Linked DNA regions of Homo sapiens: region 2 is linked to region 1. Evidence: promoter capture Hi-C in human tissues and cell types (Jung and others, 2019). All regions are on one chromosome and are shown on one strand. The core of a region is centred on a gene start or on the middle of the fragment in contact, and the rest is flanking DNA. Distances in the headings are between cores, read along the strand shown. Region 1 holds the start of C2orf66 (chromosome 2 open reading frame 66). Region 2 overlaps SF3B1 (splicing factor 3b subunit 1).

Region 1 (3,610 bases), core at 562-3,061:
CCTGGCATAATTTCAGTACCTTTAAAGTGCCCCATTCCTAGCACAGCTGTTCACCTTTTTAGACACACTTCTCCCTCTGTCTTCCTCAGGTTGCCTGGGTAACTCCTATTCAGTTGACTGGATGTAAGGTCATTTCTTCACAGAAGACTTCCTTGGCTCTCAGACTGAATCAAATTCCCTTTTTCTATACTTTCATAGCACTCGCTATTTCATAGAAATGATTGTTCACTTATATGTACACATTTGGTTGTACGATTTGATTAATGTTTGTCTTGCCCACTACTCTATTTTAATGAGGGCAAGGACTGTATTTATTATTCTTACCATTTCATCCTCAAATCCTGTTGCAGTACCTGGCACATAGTAGGCACTTTGTAAAAGTCTGCTGAATGAATAAACAGAGGAAATGAACAACTGAAGGGCAGAGGTCATAGTAACTTGCCCAGGGTCAAGATGGCAAGACTGAGACTATAGCCAGGTTTGCTAATTTCCAGTCGAGATCACCAGCCTTCTGAATAAATATCTTGTCCTAAATTTTGTTCTAAATCATTGGAACCAAAGCAACGTCACAACTCAAGTCCAATTTCTCGGCCTACCATTTTCTACAGATGGCATTTATTCAGCAAGGGAATGTTGTAGGTATAGTAATTTATCTTTTTTCCATGAAACATGTGTTATCTTCTTGCTCTATTTTGAAGAGATATTATGATAAATGATGCCACTATTTAAAACTTGTAAAGCTTCTTGAGGTTCTCAGAAAAAAGTACAAGGTATAGGTCAAAAAGAGTAATTTTGTCTCTCACAAAAGAATTTTCTGTTCAAAAAATGCTGTTAACTTGAAAAAGTCATATCTCCAAAAGAACGTTCTAATAGGTGGGATAATCATCATCATATTTCCAGCTATAATCCATCATATTTCCAGGTGTATCCCTTCCCTTAAAAGTAAAAAAGGAGAAAATCACTTTGCTGTGTGGAAGTGCTTTGTGTGTTTTATAAAATCCACATAAAATGTTCGTGGTTCAAGGAGTGGCTGCCGCATTTCTAAGGCAAATAAGCTTATCCCTGAAGAAGCTTGAAGATCTGACTCTCAAGAATCTTTGTGTTCTGGATGAAAAAGGAATCATTATTTTTTAACTCCCCTGCTCAAGTCAGTGACTTCCACTGGCACCCAATCCATTGGTTATAAGTACCCATGAATTGCCTTGCCAATTATAGGCAGGATAACCTAGGAGGACCAACCAAAACCAAACTCCTGGTAAGCTTTATTAGCCTTTTCTACAATGTGTCTCAGTTTCTCTTTCACACCTTGGAGTGGAAGACAATCTCTACTCACACTGTTGTGGTATGTGTCTGTCTGTCTCAGATGTGTGTATAAGGTGTATTTCTCAGCTCGGTATCTGAAGTAATTTCTTTTTCTTTTCTTTTTTTTAAAGACTGCTGTCTTAAGGCTTAAAAGTAATTTAAGGTTTTGTTTTTTGTTATTTTAAGAGTTGCAGTTTCTTTGGAGACAACAAAGTACTTTTTTTCCAAAGATGAAAAAGGCATATTCAGACTTTCTATGTTATGTTCCATAATTGTTTTGCTTATCACTGTATAACATTCTCATTATCATGGGCTACTTTAAGCTAATCAGTTGCATTTTGGGGTCCTCATTTAGAAGTCAATCTGGAAAAAAGATGGCTGTAAAACTTAGATAAACCAGTATGCTATTTCTCCTTCCTTGTCTGCCTTTACAGATGTTTCCTCTTTCTCTCTCTCTTCCCTGACTATCTCTCTCAATGATCATTGACAGCTCCCGCATCCCCTCTTTCACTCAGCTTCACTCCACCATGACCAGAGCACCTCTCCTGCTACTATGTGTTGCCCTGGTGCTGCTTGGGCATGTGAATGGAGCCACAGTAAGAAATGAGGACAAATGGAAGCCACTCAACAACCCCAGAAACAGAGATCTGGTAAGAACACACTTGGGGCCTGGGTTTCAGGATAGAACTAATGCCTCTTTGGATTTACGCACACAGCATTCTGTTTTCCAGAACGTAGTGGAAAGGGGGCTACCAAGGGTTGAGAAAATTCTCCAACAGGATTGGACCAGAGTTTTACTACCCTAGTGGTTGGCAACCTATTGTTTCTCTGGCCAGTTTACATTTGTTTCTGTAAAGAGAAACAAATTTATATTTAGAAACAATCTTATACACACATAGTACAATTCATTTGTAACTGATCTTATATACACATTGACTTTGTAGCCTTGATTTCTAATACATATAAAAAATAAAGAGTGTAACAGGGAATTGCTCGTGCATAGCTTAGATTGAACTGATGATAAAACAAGTTATCATATAACTAGAGATTGCCAAGCTCAGCTGCAAAAATTGAAAGTTGACCCTGCATGGGTATCAATTTACTGGACATATTTTCAACATATAGTTATCTATAAAATAGAATTCAAAAGATCAGTAAACATTCTCTTTAAAAAAAATGCCAAATACAATAAACATGTTGACATGACTATTTTGAAATATGGTTTTTCTAAAGTGAATGATGGGAAATATAACAACATAGGATTAAAATAAACTGAGATAAGAGACCAGCAGGATTTGTTTTCTGGTCACAGCTGCTGACGAAAACAGGATCTGGTCCAGACAGGATAAAGTGAAAACACTGGGTGAAACCAGCAGATGGCAACAAAAGTGGTCCCGACCTGCTCTCATTGCTCTTAGGATATGATCCTCCCCTCAGTGCCATGACAGTTTACAAATGTCATGGCAATTACCTGGAAGCTACCACTCCTTTCCATGGCAATGACCCAAAAGTTACCACCTCTTTCCTAGAAAGCTCTAAATAACTCCCTTCTGTTTGCATTAACCCATCCCTTAATTTGCATATATTCAAAAGTGGATAAAAACACAGTTGATAAGAGCCCATATGTTGTCAGCCCTAGGTGCACTACCTATGAATTAGCCTTGTTCTGGCAGGAGCAGTACCTTTCAATAAAAGATTGTTACCACAACCAGCCTGCCCTTAAATTCTTTTCTGGGCAAAGCCAAGAACCCTCCTGTGCTAAGCTCCAGTTTTGGGATTTGCCTGTCCTGCATCAAAGCAAGTAGCACTTCGCACATCTTCTGTGTTCATTTCCTAATGGAAATCTGAAAAGAAACTATTGCAGAAGGCAACAACAGAGATCTCATATTAAGGAAGAGGAGATACTGAGCTGCTTATTATGGAGTTCATTTTCACCTTTGACCTTAGTACTCAGAGATAGTTCACAATGAATCTTTCCACTGTGGTGCCGCTCCATAGTCTTCCTTCAATTTTCAGTAAGAATGGTGAATTATTTTGGTTAGGGTTGAAATGTCAGAAAGAAGGTACAGAGGAGGGGAGGAGAAGTAGCTGAAGCATGTACTTGTATTTCTAGATTTTGTATTTCCTGCCTCTTAGATTAGCCTTAAAGTCAATTCAGGGGAAAAATAGAGGGAAGAAAAACACCTTTATTTTTGGTGTTTCATTTATATCTGGCATTGACCATTTTCTTTCTCTCTTTAGTTTTTCAGAAGGCTTCAGGCATATTTTAAGGGCAGAGGTCTTGATCTTGGAACATTTCCAAATCCTT
Region 2 (3,642 bases), core at 293-2,792, 580 kb before region 1:
TGTTTCACCCAGCCCGGAAAGTCAGAGATGTATATTGGAAAATTTACAACTCCATCTACATTGGTTCCCAGGACGCTCTCATAGCACATTACCCAAGAATCTACAACGATGATAAGAACACCTATATTCGTTATGAACTTGACTATATCTTATAATTTTATTGTTTATTTTGTGTTTAATGCACAGCTACTTCACACCTTAAACTTGCTTTGATTTGGTGATGTAAACTTTTAAACATTGCAGATCAGTGTAGAACTGGTCATAGAGGAAGAGCTAGAAATCCAGTAGCATGATTTTTAAATAACCTGTCTTTGTTTTTGATGTTAAACAGTAAATGCCAGTAGTGACCAAGAACACAGTGATTATATACACTATACTGGAGGGATTTCATTTTTAATTCATCTTTATGAAGATTTAGAACTCATTCCTTGTGTTTAAAGGGAATGTTTAATTGAGAAATAAACATTTGTGTACAAAATGCTAATTTGTGTGTGTTTTTTGAACATGACTTGTAAAATGCGGAACTTTGATAAAGTATTGGTTTATGTGGAATAAGTGGCTTAATTTCATTTTCTGTCACATGGTTTATAGAAAGTAGTTAGCTGAATAAAAACTATATAAAGTGATGGCATCTTTGTCAAAATTCCATTGTTGTGTTAATAATGACAGCAAGAAGAGTAGCCTCAGGGGATGTTCCCCTCAAACTAGCACAACCATTCCATCATCGTAGAAAAGTAGCACTTTTGCTAAACTGTCTTGAATATTTTGTACTTACATAGCGCCTTTCATCTCTTGATTTCTCAAAATGCTTTATGAACACATTTAAAGAAAGTGGTTTAAGTCTTGTCCAACACTTGACAGGTCTGCTGTGTTTAGCAAGTGAGGAATTTAACTTTACTTCAAAACTGCTTTCTGCCTATTAGGAGTGAGGATACCTAAGTAATGCTGATAGAACAGGACAATGTTGGGCTTTTCTCCATGTTATAAGCCACTACTCAGCAATGCATCAGTAAATACCTATTCACCCACTGTATGCCAGCCACTGTGCTTATATGCAGGGGATGCAAAGGTGCATGAGACCTGCCCTCTACCTTTAAGAACAGTATAATGGAGAAGGGGAGACAAACCTTGTGACAGATTCCTTATGTACTGTGATAATACACAGTGGCAGCAGCTAAAATGTCTAGGTTTGCTTAGCTTTGTATTCAGTAATAATAAGTTGATCTAAGAGTTCAGCATAAACTGAATGAAATGCCATTTAATGGTAGAGGAACCAAGCATTAAGGCAGTACTACACTTAATTTTTTAAGCAAATATGTAAAGTATATTTTCAAACTTTTCTAATGTTATGGCCCCAAATTTCTTAGTTTTGGCCTTTTTACTACCTATACTATTTTTACTGTTTTGTTTTGTCTCCATGTGGTAGTACTTCTGTGAACTCTAAAGGGAAAAAAAATTCTGCAAGCAGCATTAGTATATAACTACTACTGTAAGTAAAACTGCCTATTGACACTTTAGGAGTTCCTGCTTCAGAAGCTTAGTTAAGAAACAGCTTGTGGCCGGGTGTGGTGGCTCATGCCTGTAATCCCAGCACTTTGGGAGGCTGAGGCGGGCGGATCACGAGGTCAGGAGATCGAGACCATCCTGGCTAACGCGGTGAAGTCCCGTCTACTAAAAATACAAAAATTAGCCAGGCGTGGTGGCGGGCGCCTGTAGTCCCAGCTACTAGGGAGGCTGAGGCAGGAGAATGGCTTGAACCCGGGAGGCGGAGCTTGCAGTGAGCCGAGATAGCGCTGCTACACTCCAGCCTGGGCGACAGAGACTCCGTCTCAAAAAAAAAAAAAAAATTGACTTTCAACAAATTGATAGTGAGCATTAAGGGTTTCCAAGTTGGATTTGTAACTCCTCATCATTCCTTGTATGACAACTTTCTGAATATATGTCACTATGTAGTAAAATTAAACACTCCAAACTCATCTTTCTGTTGTTAGAAGTTTTCAGCGGTACTTCCATGCAACTTTAAATCTCACTGCTCTCTATGGTTGATGTCAAATGACCTTCAGTAATGACTGAGAATTGAATACAAATAGATTACAAAGCCAAAATTTGATGTTAAATGACTCAGGAAATTTTAGTTGTATTTTCAATTCAAGTACTTAGTAGCCTACGTTTGCTTGGCCTCTGGTTCTTTATGGAAAATAGGCTTTGTAGTGGCATTGTGGAGCAAAGGAGACTGTTACACCTTAATTAACTTTTTTTACTGATGCAAATAATTTGAGGATAGAGAGGAGGGAAGTAGTGAAAGCTATGACCTAAAACATTGGGACCAAATAGAGGCTCACAGATATTTGGATTATTTTATGTGCTTATTATTAAATAAGGAAAGCATTTTGTGATATGTGGAAGACGCTATGTGAAGTTTTACCTATCTTCTCAAAGACCTTTTCTTTTGTATTTTCTTTTGGTGTTTCTTAAAGCCAAACAAAGAAATGTTCTTAAGGAGACAGGGTGGGTTTTTCTGTGGGCCTTTGTTGGTTTTTCTGTGGGCCATCGCCCTCTAATGGAATTGATCTCTGGCTGTTTGATTTTTTTCATATTGTATTTTTAAAATTTGTTGTACAGTGCCCTGTGAGCACCAAGTACCACTAGATGAATAAAACGTATTATATCTAAAGTCTTAGTAGACCAATTTTTAATCTTAGTTGACTCTGTATTGTTATCACACTGCACTCTGTTGTGGTTGTGCCATTTTTGCAAAATTGAGCTCTTTCGGTTGTTTTCGAAATAAGGGAACTTAGTGTTGAAAAACCAGAGAACTTTTTCTTTAATAAGAAACTAAAAAAGTTGCAGCCACATAGGTTCAGTTTGGCTCTTTGGTTTCCAGTGGCTCTCAAATCCCCTAAGGTTAAAAGAAAACACTACAGCTACCCTAGGGTTTCTCAACCTTGGCATTATTGACATCTTGAATCAAATAATTCATTATTGTGGGGGTGCTGTCCTGTGCCTTGCAGAATCTTGAGCAGTGTTCCTGACCTCTACCTATTGAGATGCCAGCAGCACACCCCCATCCCAGTGTAATAACCAAAAATGCCTCCAGACATTGTCTCATGTCCCTTGGAGAGCAAAATCTCCCTAGGGTGAGAACCACTGAGACCATTGTTTAAGCAGGACTTACATGTTTAATAAAATTAAAGCATGATATATAAAGCATTTGATTTTAGGCAGCAGTTGTCTAGGAAGTAACTAGAAATACAACTTAGCAAATACTTAAATGTCTACCTTGGGGTAAAGCTCCGCATAAGTCCTGGGGAGAGTAAGCTGTGAAAATGTGTAAGATGACCCCGCACTGATCCTCAGAGCATCTTGTGACAGTTGGGAGCCATGTTGGCAGCTCGGGCAGGAGTGCTGGAGGTGGCTTGGTGCTCCACTTGGGATGCTGGTCTTCAAGCATTGTGTTCTCACCTGTGAGCTGGCGATAGGTGGGTTATATGGTACGGCTGGAAGAGGAGGGCAGGCAGGGCACAGAAACCCCTTCCTCCCCTTTTAAAAAATTTGGATAGGAAGCCATGGAGGGAATTTAATGTGACTTGATAGAGAATTTAGGTTTGCAAGGCAGTCAAGATTTGTAGGCAGGAGGGAATA

The links. The method cuts DNA at HindIII sites, captures the fragments that hold promoters and counts their contacts. A contact is called where the count stands out against the background at its distance.
Region 2: a contact is called between a fragment that was not itself captured here and the fragment with the promoter of C2orf66 in region 1, in 1 of the 25 tissues and cell types used here (dorsolateral prefrontal cortex).

What each region holds. Positions count from the first base shown.
Region 1 is chr2:196,807,556-196,811,165 of GRCh38, reverse strand. C2orf66 (chromosome 2 open reading frame 66) reads left to right here and starts at 1,811. Exons shown (of 3, transcript NM_213608.3): 1 at 1,811-1,952; 2 at 3,544-3,610. The coding sequence starts at 1,830. The HindIII fragment of the contact is 3,112 bases long and covers 313-3,424 here.
Region 2 is chr2:197,388,816-197,392,457 of GRCh38, reverse strand. SF3B1 (splicing factor 3b subunit 1) reads left to right here. Exons shown (of 25, transcript NM_012433.4): 25 at 1-2,674. The coding sequence ends at 155. Among named protein-coding and RNA genes, the nearest start is that of SF3B1, 44 kb to the left of the region's middle. The HindIII fragment of the contact is 5,939 bases long and covers 1-3,642 here.